4 separate regions of the Homo sapiens genome follow, and regions 1, 3 and 4 are each linked to region 2. Evidence: promoter capture Hi-C in 16 types of primary human blood cells and fetal thymus (Javierre and others, 2016). All regions are on one chromosome and are shown on one strand. Each heading gives the region's core, a stretch centred on a gene start or on the middle of the fragment in contact. The rest is flanking DNA. Distances are from core to core; before and after follow the strand shown. Region 1 holds the start of FOXE3 (forkhead box E3). Region 2 holds the start of PDZK1IP1 (PDZK1 interacting protein 1). Region 3 overlaps CMPK1 (cytidine/uridine monophosphate kinase 1). Region 4 overlaps CMPK1 (cytidine/uridine monophosphate kinase 1).

Region 1 (3,357 bases), core at 202-2,701, 230 kb before region 2:
TCTGACCCAGGAGTGTCGGAAAAACATGAGAGAAGGTTGATGAAGTACAGTCGGTGGAGGAGGCGGCTTGGGATCACAGATCTGGCTTCCAAAGGCTTGGAACTCACCAGGAAACCTGGGGTATGGACTCACTGGAGGCGAGTCAGCTCCGGGGCAAGGGACCCACAGACAGCGCTGGGGTGGGGGGCGCCGCAAAGCTGGGGGCGCTCACAAGTGGAGGGAGAAGAAATGAGAGGCTGGCAGGTCAAAGGGGACGCTTCTGTCCAGTGGCGAGATGGTGGGAGCCTCCCCAGGGATGGGGGACGGAGAAGGATGTAGCAGGAGTTTGAGTCCAGGAGGCCACGACGAGAGGCGCAGGGTGTGCTCCAAGCCAGGGTGGGGGGTAGAGATGGGGCGCTCGAGGGCGGCGCCGCAGGTCCGGGGCACAGGTCGCACAGGTGCCTGCCCGCGCGGCGCAGGCTCACAGGTAGCGCTCCAGCCCCGACGCGAAGCCCGGCTGCCTCAGGTAGGCCTCCCCAGGGCTGAGCGGGCCGAGAGCGGCTGCCGGCCCGGCCAAGGCCAGGAGGGGCTCAGCGGGCAGCGGGCCGGGGCCGGGGCGCGTCGCGGGCAGTACCAGGCGGTCGGGGACCTGCGAGTAGAGTGGCGGGGAGGCGGCGGCAGCGCAGGGCGGGAAGGCTGCGGCTGCGGCGTCGGGCGCGGCGCAGCAGGGCGGCTCGGGGGCGCCCAGCCCCGCTAGCTCCGGCTGCAGGTTCACCAGGCTGTCGACGCTGAACAGACGCGCGGGCGGCGAGGGGCCCGGTCCGGCAGAAGGCGGCGGCACCAGCAGCGCGGGGCCGGGCGCGGGCGCGTAGGGCGCGTAGGGGAAGGGGAGCGGCGGCCCTGGCGCCGCGGCCGCGTGCGCGGGCAGCTCGGCGCGCTTGAAGCGCTTGCGGCGCCGCAGGAAGCTGCCGTTGTCGAACATGTCTGCGGCCGCGGGGTCCAGCGTCCAGTAGTTGCCCTTGCCCGGGTTGCCCGGCTCGCGGGGCACCTTGACGAAGCAGTCGTTGAGCGTGAGATTGTGGCGGATGCTGTTCTGCCACTTGCGCGGGCTGTCGCGGTAGAAGGCAAAGCGTTCGGTGATGAAGCGGTAGATGGCGGCCAGCGTGAGGCGGCGGCCCGGGGCGTGCGCCAGAGCCATGGCGATGAGCGCGATGTACGAGTAGGGCGGCTTCCCGCGCTGCAGGGGCCGCCGCCGCCGCCGCCCCGGGCCGGGCGCGGGCGTGGGGGCCGCCTCTCCGCGGCCAGCCGCCGCCTCCTCTGGCTCCCGCCCTGGCTCGGCTCCTGCGAGCGGCGACGGCGGCGGCCCCGACGGCGCGACCGCTGGCAGGGCAGGGAAGCCAGAGAACGCGGCGGGCGGATCCATGTCGCTGCGCCCCGCCATCGGCTGCGGCAGCCCCTGCCCGCGCGGCTCCGGGACCGCAGGGGCCGCCGACCCGCTTTATATGGACACGGCCCCCCCCCAACCACCGCCGGGGGAGAGGGCTCAGGCCTTGCCTGCTGGCCAGCGCCTCCCCTCTAATTTCCTCTCCCAGCCCCCTTACTCTGTTCACGGTACCCTCCTCCATTTCGCCCCTCCCTTTCTGCCTTTGGATCAGTTTTTCCCAGACCCAGACTCACCCCTTCCCCATCTCGGTTATATCAGCCCCTGGCCCCATCCCACTGTATTTGGTCAGTCCCCTTCCCTTTCCACCCCTCCTTCTACCCCCTCTCCTTTGGATCATTCCCAATCACAAATCCACCCATTCACTCTCCCAGCCCCCTCCCCATTTTGCTCCTCCCCATTTTGCTCCTCCCAGTAGTCGGTCCCCCCATCCTTCTCCTGGCCTTCCATCCCCAGCTGGAACAGAGATGAAGGCCGCCTTGCCAGCCCTCAGTATCCTGATGGGGAGGTGTCAGGCCCACTCACAGACATTAGGGAACCTGGGCCAAGGTAATGAAGCAGCGGGGCAGGGCAGAGCCAGGCCGGTTTTGTCTCTGGGAGAATGTTTGACTGCTCCAGATCAGGGTCACCATCTTGCCTCTCTGCCACCCCCCTCCCCCATACCCCTGTCATGCCCTCCCTCCAGGCCTTGAGAGCATTCTCTGAAAAAACAGAATTGTGGAAAGTGGTGCGGCCGCTTTAAATGAAGAGCCCCCAGGAAATCCACAACTTGGAGCTGCCTTTCTGGCTGCCTCCTCTCCACACCCCCCTGTTAAAGAAAACAGCTTTTCTTCACATACACACACACACACATACACCCACACACACAGTACAAAATGTAGGCTTCCACAGACTGGGGGTCTGAAAAAGCCGCCTTCTGACCCAGAAACACCACACTCACATCTCACTGGGGATGGGGGGTCTTTGGCAGTGTTTGTTAAAAACTCAGTCTGAGAAGTTCCACCCACAACTGGCATCCAGGGGGATGCAGCACCCAGCCTATTTTGGGAAACTTCTTCTCCCAAGAGACAGGAGACCCATCCCCAGCTCCAAGGGAACTACAGGGTGAAGGAGCCTTGTCTTAAAGTGGGTTGTCCTGGGGACAGGCAGATCAAGGGACTTGGACATGGAGCAGGGCTGGAAGGACAGTGAGCCCACTGAGGTGCCTGAGGTGCTGAGTTTAAGGGGAGCTCAGTCTCAGGGCCTTGCAAGTGCAGTCAGCACTTGAGAGCCAGGGCCTCCTTACATTTGGGGCATCTCACTTGCCCCATCCTAGTCCCCCAGCCATGCTATAGAGTGTCCCTAGGTATAGGTGACCAAAGCTAGTTACAGCAGGCCTGTAAACTCCAAACTCAAAATCCAGTTCAAAATCCAAACTCAAAGCATGGAGCTCAAGGGCCCCTCTCTCAGCTCCAGTCTCAGCTGATGACATCACAGCCACCATTACTGAGCATTTTGTATTTGGTAAACACTTTATGTACATTATTGCACTTAAGTTTGGGCACCCCGTGAAGTGAGTACTGTTATTATTCCTGTTTTGCAAATGAGGAAACTAAGGTTCTGAGAGGTTAAGTGGTTTCCCTGACTTCACACAGCTAGTAGTAAGTGGTAGAGCTGGAATTAAATGTGAAGTTCAAAGCTCTAGCACCCCACTCTTCTAAGAATGCCATCCTTTAAGGCTGAGCTGAGACATTAGAAATAATCAGAGTATTTCCAGCTCCCACAACTTCAGCTGCCAAAGTAGATTCTTAGCTTCTCTCCTCACCTCCTGGTCAGCATATCTAGGTGCCCATTGGGCATAACCACATGGATATTTCAAGGTATCTCAAACCCAAATGTCCTAAATGAAATGCATCTCTTCCTCTACCCGGTACATCCTCCAGCCTTGGCCGGCTCTC
Region 2 (3,332 bases), core at 149-2,648:
CACACACACACACACACACACACACACACACACACACACACACACACAGGAAGCAGGCCTGAGGCATGATGTCTGAGTGCTCCCGCTGGAGCAGGAAGGCAGAATCAACCTGCCATAGGAAGGGTTGCCCAGGAGGCCTGATGAATAGGAGTTTGGTGGCTTCAGGGAAGAGAGGCTGTGGAGGTGCCTTCAGCTCAGGTGCTGGCTCCTGGGGACCTTCCATCTCTGATGAGACTTTGTTCCAGTTGGCCCGCTCCTTTCTAGGGAGTCAGCATCTCAGCTTCCCATACTTCTGGGGTGGGGGGTGGGGCAAGGAGACCAGCATGACCCTTGGTCAGGGGCTTGCACAGGAACTCTGGCCATTCTCATTCCCTGAGCTGGAGGGCCAGGTGGACACCACGTGATCCTGGGGAGGCTTTTGCCTCTTCCGAGGGCTCTGGCTCCAGGGCCTCCCTGTTCCAGGGGCTAGGTGTGCCTTCCTCAATGCTGCTTTTGGCTATGAGGGTGACGGGCCCAGGGCTTCAGGGCCCCAGATCGCACCTTGCCATCTGGGGTGTCCGTCCTTTGTCCCCCACAGCAGGCTGTGTTTGCCCATTTTCTCCTCTGCCATGGGTGGAGATGGATCTGAAGTTGGGTGTTGAAGCCTCTGACCAAGGCTGTATCTTGTTTTGAGGCCCTGCCCGGTTTCCAGGGACCACATCTGGGGCCAAGAGGAAGAACCGAACTGGGACTAGGTTAGCTGTGCTGGGTCAGGGCCTGGGCATGGGCTGTGAAAGCTGGGGACTGGGACCTTCAGGCCCTCTATTGAGATCTTTGCAGAAGGGGGTGGATTTAGGAAGCTACTGGGCTGGGCCAGGGCGTGGAAGGCACTGAAGCCGTAGTGTGTCCCAGCATTAGAGTCCCAGAGTTTAGCTTGGCGGGGCAGGGGCAGGTGGTGGGGAGAACAGGAAATAGGCCAGGCTCTCGGCGGAGTCTGGCAGCTTTGAGCCTTCTCTGGGCTTCTGGGGTTTTCCCCAGGCTCCTGAGCCAGCCAGGACATTTCTTAATCCCACTGTCAGCCTTCCAAGAAGCCCCGCCCACTGGGCTCAGTCAAGGCAGGAGCGACTGTGTGTCACCCCTTTCCCTAGAATCCAGCCCCACTGCCAGGAAAAGGGAGCTCAGGGCATGGAGGTGAGGCTGGGACTCTCCCACATCTGCTTGTTCCTCATACCCACCTCCTTAGCTGGCCCCTGGAAGATGACCTCGAATGCCAGCCCAAGTGAGCTGGGCACCAGCCAGGGGAGGCCAGGTCTGGCAGCTCATTACCATGGGAGGGAGGGCACGTTCTCTCCGACGCCCGTCTTCGTGTCTCCTCCCTCCCTCGCCTTCCTCCTTCCTAGCTCCTCTCCTCCAGGGCCAGACTGAGCCCAGGTTGATTTCAGGCGGACACCAATAGACTCCACAGCAGCTCCAGGAGCCCAGACACCGGCGGCCAGAAGCAAGGCTAGGAGCTGCTGCAGCCATGTCGGCCCTCAGCCTCCTCATTCTGGGCCTGCTCACGGCAGTGCCACCTGCCAGCTGTCAGCAAGGTAGCTCAGGAGGAGAGGGCTGGGCACGGGAGACCCAGGGGTGGACAGGTGGTGTTCTGGCTCCCCTCCCCAGGGCCTTGATACTTACAGTTTGGAGGGGGAGCAGGGACTGCGCTAGCTGAAAGAATGTCCCAAGGCAGAGACCTCTGAACCAAGTCTCTGCCTGTCACTTGTTTTCAACGAGTGAAAACTGGCAGCAGTTGGTTCTAGGATCTCAGGGAGGAACAGGATTTGAGGCCCAAGCCCCAAGAGCAGGCATTGCCCAAGGGATGGCTGGGTCCTGAGTACAGGGGACCCGGGGGTACAAGTAGGGTGAGAGTGGGGCCCAAGCCACCCCTCAAAGACTTGGGCTTTGTCTCGGCCTCTTGGGCTTGGATAGAGAACAGTGCCCAGTGTGACTCCCCCAAATATCTGACCTCTTCGTCCTGCTCTGCCTGAATGGATGTGTGACCTTGAGCAAATCACTGCCCCTTCCTGAGACTCAGTTTTCTCACCTATAAAATGAGAACAATAAACCCCACCCTGCCCACCTCCCAGGGCTGCTGCCAGGTCAGAGGTGAAGAAGGGCTTTGCACCTGGTGAAGTAACTAACCCAAGGTCTGGCTTTCATTCTACACTGTCAGGCTGCATCTGCAGCCAAAGTCTGGGGACTCTGCAGGTGGGACTTGGTCCAGAGGGGACTGGCAAAGATGCTTTCAGAGCTCCCCTCCCACCCCCACCCCGAGCTCTTATGTGTGTCTGCTTCAACTCTGTCTCCCAGGTCTTGGAAGCCCTCTGGGGAACTGCAGACCAGAGAGGTTGAGTCACAGAGCACGGCAAGAAAGGACAGGGTTCAGACCACCTTTCTCCTGCCCCAGACACTGCCCCTTGCTGTATGTGCATGGGAGGAGGAGCAGGGACTGTGGTCCCTGGGGTGACTGGAGAGAATTGGCTGCAGGGTCTAGGAGGAAACAGGGAGGGGCCTCCAAGGGTTGAGCCCTAACTCCCCATGCTTGAGCAACCACTGACCTGAGGGAGCAGTCTGAACCCCTAGGGAAACAATGACTCCCAAATACTGCTTTTTGGCAGGTGTGGAACTGAGGGTAATCACACTGTGTGTCTTCTGCTTCCCCTGGAGATAAGTGAGGTCTGACCTCACTACAGGCCAGAGAGTTCCTAGCCTCCTTCCTCCTTCCCAATATTTGCCAGGCTCGGAGAAGAGGTCAGGCCTCCACTGCAGCAGGAGAGCTTTTGGTAGACTCAAAGGAGGACATTTGAGCAGGAGTGAGCCAGAGGAAGGTTTTCTCATGTCCAGCTTGGGTCCCTCAAAATATAGGGATGCAGGTATATTCTGGCCTGGAGGCAGGACCCCTCTGAAGCCCCCTGCTGACCTGTGTTTTGTCCTGGGACTTCTCCCCGCTGAGGGTCTTTTCTCTACAAGGCTGAGCTCCTGCAGGCTCATGGAGTGCAGTGATGCTGGGGAAGAGGAAAGTCCTTTGGGGAAGCAGAGGCCTGAAGGCAGGGACTTCAGGAAAATCTTGAGGGACTGTGTTGGTGTCAAGGGTCAAAAAGCAGAGAAGGGACCTGGTGCAGTAGCTCATGCCTGTAATCCCAGCACTTTGGGAGGCCAAGGCCAGAGGCTCGCCTGAGCCCAGGAGTTTGAGACCAGCCTGGGCAACGTAGTAAGACCCTGTCTCTATTAAAAAATAAAAAAAGTAGAGAAGGGTGCAGGTTGGGGCCTCAACCTAATCTCTGGCCCTAGTCCCTGGGCACCCAGCTGGGGGA
Region 3 (3,287 bases), core at 689-3,188, 150 kb before region 2:
CCGAGACCAGCCTGACCAACATGGAGAAACCCCGTCTCTACTAAAAATACAAAATTAGCCGGGCATGGTGGCGCATGCCTGTAATCCCAACTACTCAGGAGGCTGAGGCAGGAGAATCGCTTGAACCCAGGAGGCAGAGGTTGTGGTGAGCCAAGATCGTGCCACTGCACTCTAGCCTGGGCAACTCAAACTCTGCCTCGAAAAAAAAAAAATTATTATTCCACCAGAAGGAAAGAAGCATATTCTTAAACACTGGACCTTAATATCCAGTGGATTTTCCTATCTAGTTTCTTCTGAATGCTGCTCTGTTTGAGAATTTGTAATGAGGAGCTTGGAAATCTGCTCAGCAGATTTTCACAACCATATCATTGATTCATTCATTGAGAGTAAACAAAAGTGTTACATGAGAAATCTGAGGAAGACAGGCTGGGTACGCTGGCTTACGATGCAATCCCAGCACTTTGGAGACTGAGGTGGGAGGATCGTTTGAATCCAGGAGTTTGAGACTAGCCTGTGCAACATAGGGAGACCCCATTTCTCTTTTTTTTTTTTTTGAGACGGAGTCTTGCTCTGGGGAGACCCCATTTCTACAAAATAAAAAAAATTAGCTGGGCATGGTGGCATGCACCTGTAGACCTAGCAACTTGGGAGGCTGAGGTGGAAAGATCAGTTGAGCCTGGGAGGTGGAGGCTGCAGTGAGAATGAGCCACGATTGTGCCACTGCACTGCAGCCTGGGCAACAGAGGGAGAGCTCATCTCAAATAAATAAATAAATAAATAGGAAAGAAAGGGAAAGGGGAGGGGAGGGGAGGGGAGGGGAGGGAAGGGAAGGGGAGGGGAGGGAAGAGGGCAGCCGGATGCGGTGGCTCACGCTTGTAATTCCAGCACTTTGGGAGGCTGAGGCAGGCGGATCACCTGAAGTCAGGAGTTTGAGACCAGCCTGGCCATTATGGTGAAACCCCATCTCTACTAAAAATACAAAAATTAGCCACGCGTTGTGGTGGGTGCCTGTAATTGCAGCTACTCAGGAGGCTGAGGGAGGAGAATCGCTTGAACCCGGGAAGCGGAGGCTGCGGTGAGCCGAGATCATGCCACTGCACTCCCGTCTGGGCGACAGAGTAAGGCTCTGTCTTAAAAAAAAAAAAAAAAAAAAAAAAGGAAAGGAAGAAAGAAAAAGAAATCAGAGGAAGACATTCAAACACTTCTGGTCCTTAAAATGGGAGAGCCAACTGCCACTGGAGCGCCCTCTGGGGATCGAATTTTTAAAAATTTTACATCTTCAGGACAAACAATAAACTCTATGAATCCAACGTATTCAACTTATAATTCAATAAGTGCTTAATAAGCAGTTACTATGTGTCAGGCACAATGTTCAACACTGGGGACACAAAGATAAATGAAATCAAGTTTCTGATTTATATATGCTTAAAGTCAATTATCATCCAAAACTTTTTCTAAGTGCAGTAAGTAGGATGGCCAGGCAAAGTAAGAGTTACCCACACAGGCCCTGGAGGAAGTTGACACAGATGATAAAATGCTTCTTGGGTGAGGCCAGGCGCAAAGGCTCATGCCTGTAATCTCAGTACTTTAGGAAGCTGAGGCAGGTGGATCACCTGAGGTCAGAAGTTCGAGACCAGCCTGGCCAACATGGCATTCATGGTGGCATGTGTCTGTAGTCCCAGCTACTTGGGAGGCTGAGGCAGGAGAATCTCTTGAACCCAGGAGGCGGAGGTTGCAGTGAGCTGAGGTCACACCACTGTACTTCAGCCTGGGCAACAGAGTGAGACCCTCTCTCAAAAAAAAAAAAAAAAGTTTTCTGGGTGCTACAGAAAGCAATTTGGCATGGTTATAAGCTTTAGTCATAATTTGTTTATGTAAGCAAAATGTTCACAATCTTTAAAAGAGAGGTTTAAATATTTCTTCCAACTAATGCATGTAAAATGGTGGTTATTTTCAAATATAAATTTAGGTTACATTGACATAATTTCATTTGGGCCAAAACAACAAATATAAATAAAGCTTAATTTTAAAAATTCAAGAATGACACAGTATTCCCATCATGATTTTATAACTAAATTATTGCACAATAATTCCATTCTGGAAACTTAACTCTAAGTATCACACTGATTTAGAAAATAGCTCATTTTCAAAAACAAATTCAGTATTAGAGGATACAGATTTACAAACAATTAGAAAATAAAACAAATTCTCCAAGTCTGGGTATTTGGTAAAAAAAAAAGAAAAGAAGAAAAAGAAAGAACAGGAAGGAGGGAGGGAGGGAAGGAGAGAGGGAGGGAGGGAAGGAGAGAGGGAGGGAGGGAAGGAGAGAGGGAGGGAGGGAGGGAAGGAAGGAAGGAAGGAGAAAAGCAAACAAAACTGAAAAACATCAGTACAAATAAATGTGCAAAATCAATCCCAAAACCTCCCTCCAATCTTTCCTTCCCAGTACAGAACACTCTCAGAAGACACTGTATCAGATTTGCCTTTACCTTCTCTAGGTCTCCAGGAGCAATTTGCAGAGCAGAATTCACCTCCAGAGAAAAAATACCAGCTTCCCTCTAACAATACCCACTTCACTAATTTCAGTGCCTTAGAGAGCAAGATATCCCTAAGGGTTTTTGGTTTTCTCTTTTTCTTCTCTTCCTGTCAACTGAAGATTCTGTAGCTAGGACTCAAATATGTACTTCTGGCAGCCTGAGTTGGAAATCAACATACTAAAGTAACAATTTCAGGTGCCCTGTGAGCTGCATTAGCTTCAGCCAGATTAATTGGAGAATTTACCGTGGATTTATGTAATTTTTTTCCTACAGGAAAAAAACCTCCAAAACTTACATTATTTTGGAATTTAGTTTATAATTGCCTGTATAAAAAAATATTGAGTCAAAATAAAGAGATTCACAAAGGAAAAAAACAACATACCGCTGACTTCACTAACAATAGATATTCCAGGCCGGGCACAGTGGCTCACACCTGTAATCCCAGCACTTTGGGAGGCCAAGGTGGGTGGATCACGAGGTCAGGAGTTCGAGACCAGCCTGGCCAACATAGTGAAACCCCGTCTCTACTAAAAATACAAAAATTAGCCGGGCATGGTGGCGCGCACCTGTAGTCCAAGCTACTCGGGAGGCTGAGGCAGAGAATCGCTTGAATCCAGAAGATGGAGGCTGCAGCGAGCCAAGATTGCCCCACTGCACACCAGCCTGGCCGACAGCGTGACACTTCGTCTCAAAAAAAAAAAAAAAATAGATATTCCAGTGTCTGTCTAGCCAGCTAGGGAATAGCAATTG
Region 4 (3,072 bases), core at 84-2,583, 180 kb before region 2:
TGAATATAAAGATGTCAAACCTATACACATGTGTCTCATGTTCTCACCCACATTCCATTTTTGTAAATTCTCTATTTACCAGTTTTTTATACTATATTTTTCTTAAGGATTTTGCTAATAATGCTTTCCTCTTACCACAGTTGCAGCAACAACAAAAAAGCAACTATCACTTACATATAAGTTATTATGGTATTTTAGTAACAGCTAGACTTTAAAGAGCATATTTTCAAAGCATTCTGCTGTCATTAAGTAATCACTGAAGCCAGTTTTGAGGAAAGCAAGAATAGATATTTTCCAGTCTTAACCAAAACTTTTTCACATTCTCTGAAATTTCCTTGCAATTAAAACTTAGTGGGTAACTAACAACAGTCTTAAAAGCAACACTCAAAACCATAGCAACTTACAAATACTATAACTACAATTACAAGCTACTATTGAACTAAAAATCGTGGCTTTTTGTTGTTGTTGTTCAGACAGGGTCTTGCTCTGTCGCCTAGGCTGGAGCACCATCTCTGCTCACTGCAACCTCTGCTTCCCAGGTTCAAGCAATTCGCGTGCCTCAGCCTCCCAAGCAGCTGGGATTACAGGCGTGCACCACCATGCCTGGCTAATTTCTGTATTTTCAGTAGAGATGGGGTTTTACCATGTTGGCCAGGCTGGTCTCGAACTCCTAACCTCAGGTGATCTACCCACCTCGGCCTCCCAAAGTGCTGGGATTACAGGCATGAGCCACCATGCCTGACCTAAAGATAGTAATTTTCTAGTGACAAATATATAAACTCAATTCATTTAGAATAAGTGCCTAAAATTTTAACTGAAATTTTTCCTTTAAGAAGTTGAAAAACAATTCAATAACCTTTACGGATCATGCACTAAGATTTGGAGGGAGAAAAAAGCACCATGTTCACAACAAGTACAAAATGGTACTCTATTTTACTACAACTAGGCAAATGTTGACAACTTTATGGGGTCAAATATCAAACCATCTTGTTCAATTTCTCTCACTTTTTTTTTTTTTTTTTGAGACAGGGTCTCACTCTGTCACCCAGATTGGAGTGCAGTGGCACGATCTCAGCTCACTATAACCTCCACCTCCTAGGCTTAAGCAATTCTCCCACCTCAGCCTCCCGAGTAGCTGGGACTAGTGGTACATGCCACTGCATCCAGCTAATTTTTGTACTTTTTGTAGAGATGGGGTTTTGCCATGTTACCCAGGCTGGTCTCAAACTCCTGGGCTCAAGCAATCCACCTGCCTCAGCTTCTCAAAGTGCTGAGATTACAGGCATGAGCCATCCCAACTGGCCTAACTTATCTCATTTCTTAGCAACTGCATCTCTCCTAAATTCAGAAAACAACGAAAACACAAGACAAAAAAAAAAAAAAAGATCTTCAGGGTACAAATGATGCACAAATGGCAAGTCTTTGAAGGCAGGAAGAGATCCAGATGCCAGGCACTTCCTCCCATTAATGTGGCAATTAGAAATTGCCACTGAACTGCTACTGAGCTTCTCTTGCATTATAGAGGGAACATAGCAGAGATATTAAATACAAATGTATTTTTAAAGCAACTGAAGTGAATTAAAACTATTGGGTACGGCCAGGTACAGTGGCTCACACCTGTAATTCTAGCACTTTGGGAAGCCAAGGTGAGAGGATTGCTTGAGGTCAGACGCTCAAGACCAGCATGCGCAACACAGTGAACATGTTTCTACAAAAAATAAAAACATTTGCTGGGCAAGGCTATGTGCACCTGTAGTCCCAGCTACTTAGGAGTTTGAGGCAGGAGGAAAACTTGAGCCCAGGATGTAGTGAGCTATGATCATGCCACTGCCCTCCAGCCTGGGAGACAGAGCAAGACTCTGTCTCTAAAAAACAAAACAAAACATATATAAATTCACATAATGTATAATATATAAATTACATTTTCATATATTATATATTATACAATTTATATCATAACTTATGGCATATAATATATAAAATTTATATGTAATATAGTATATAATTTATATTATTATATATTAAAAATATAAATATATGGCTGGGCATGGTGGCTCACACCTATAATCCCAGCACTTTGGGAGGCTGAGGCGGGTGGATCACCAGGTCAGGAGATCAAGACCATCCTGGCTAACATGGTGAAACCCCCGTCTCTACTAAAAATACAAAAAATTAGCCAGGCGTGGTGGCAGGCGCCTGTAGTCCTGCTACTTGGGAGGCTGAGGCAGGAGAATGGCGTGAACCCGGGAGGCGGAGCTTGCAGTGAGCTGAGATTGCGCCACTGCACGCCAGCCTGGGTGACAGAGCAAGACTGTCTCAAACAAACAAACAAAAAAACCAAACCAAAACAAAACAAACAAACAAAAAATATATATATAAAACTATTAGGCGTCCTTTAGATTTACATCTATGAAGCATCGAAGACTAAGGTTATGTTGCATTCTCCATAAGACTACTAAACCTTAGAATCTTTTTTTTTCTTTTGGCCATGAACCCATATCTAAAGGCAGATCCTTAAAATCTAAATGCTGGTTATGTGCTGTCAACAATCCACCTTCACCCAAACACCCCAAAATGCTGCAGGTACTATGGGGGGAGGTCATCCAGATGCACCAGTCTGGTACCTGCTGCAAACAACAGCTTTAGAGCCCACAACATCCCAGCAACACTTTATGTAAGTCTATTATCTGTTTCAAAACATTTTTTTTCCTTTTAGACGGAATCTCGGTCGATCACCTAGCCTGGAGTGCAGTGGCGCAATCCTGGCTCACTGCAACCTCTGCCTCCCAGGTTCAAGCGATTCTCCTGCCTCAACGTCCCGAGGAGCTGGGACTATAGGTGCCCGCCACCACACCTGGCTAATATTTGTATTTTTAGCAGAGATGGGGTTTCACCATGTTGTCCAGGCTGGTCTTGAACTCCTGATCTCATGATCCGTCAGCCTCGGCCTTCCAAAGTGTTGGGATTACAAGCGTGAGCCACCGTGCCTGTTTTTTGTTTGTTTGTTTATTTGTTTTTGAGGCGGAGTCTCACTCTGTTGCCCAGGCTGGAGTGCAGTGGTACAATCTCGGC

The links. The method cuts DNA at HindIII sites, captures the fragments that hold promoters and counts their contacts. A CHiCAGO score of 5 or more calls a contact.
Region 1: the fragment with the promoter of FOXE3 here is called in contact with the fragment with the promoter of PDZK1IP1 in region 2 in 7 of 17 cell types (total CD4 T cells, activated CD4 T cells, endothelial precursors and 4 more); the score reaches 7.5 in total CD4 T cells.
Region 3: a contact is called between a fragment that was not itself captured here and the fragment with the promoter of PDZK1IP1 in region 2, in 2 of 17 cell types (megakaryocytes and erythroblasts). The highest score is 9.4, in megakaryocytes.
Region 4: a contact is called between a fragment that was not itself captured here and the fragment with the promoter of PDZK1IP1 in region 2, in 1 of 17 cell types (endothelial precursors). The highest score is 5.2, in endothelial precursors.

Annotation. Positions count from the first base shown.
Region 1 is chr1:47,414,379-47,417,735 of GRCh38, reverse strand. FOXE3 (forkhead box E3) reads right to left here and starts at 1,451. Exons shown (of 1, transcript NM_012186.3): 1 at 1-1,451. The coding sequence starts at 1,420. The coding sequence ends at 461. The region is part of intron 1 of LINC01389 (long intergenic non-protein coding RNA 1389); the gene reads left to right. The HindIII fragment of the contact is 18,012 bases long and covers 1-3,357 here.
Region 2 is chr1:47,188,102-47,191,433 of GRCh38, reverse strand. PDZK1IP1 (PDZK1 interacting protein 1) reads left to right here and starts at 1,398. Exons shown (of 4, transcript NM_005764.4): 1 at 1,398-1,568. The coding sequence starts at 1,502. RefSeq lists a silencer at 823-1,117. The HindIII fragment of the contact is 10,710 bases long and covers 1-3,332 here.
Region 3 is chr1:47,337,572-47,340,858 of GRCh38, reverse strand. The region is part of intron 1 of CMPK1 (cytidine/uridine monophosphate kinase 1); the gene reads right to left. Among named protein-coding and RNA genes, the nearest start is that of CMPK1, 5.4 kb to the right of the region's middle. The HindIII fragment of the contact is 166 bases long and covers 1,856-2,021 here.
Region 4 is chr1:47,363,584-47,366,655 of GRCh38, reverse strand. All of the region lies in intron 1 of CMPK1 (cytidine/uridine monophosphate kinase 1), which reads right to left. Among named protein-coding and RNA genes, the nearest start is that of CMPK1, 31 kb to the right of the region's middle. The HindIII fragment of the contact is 4,857 bases long and covers 1-3,072 here.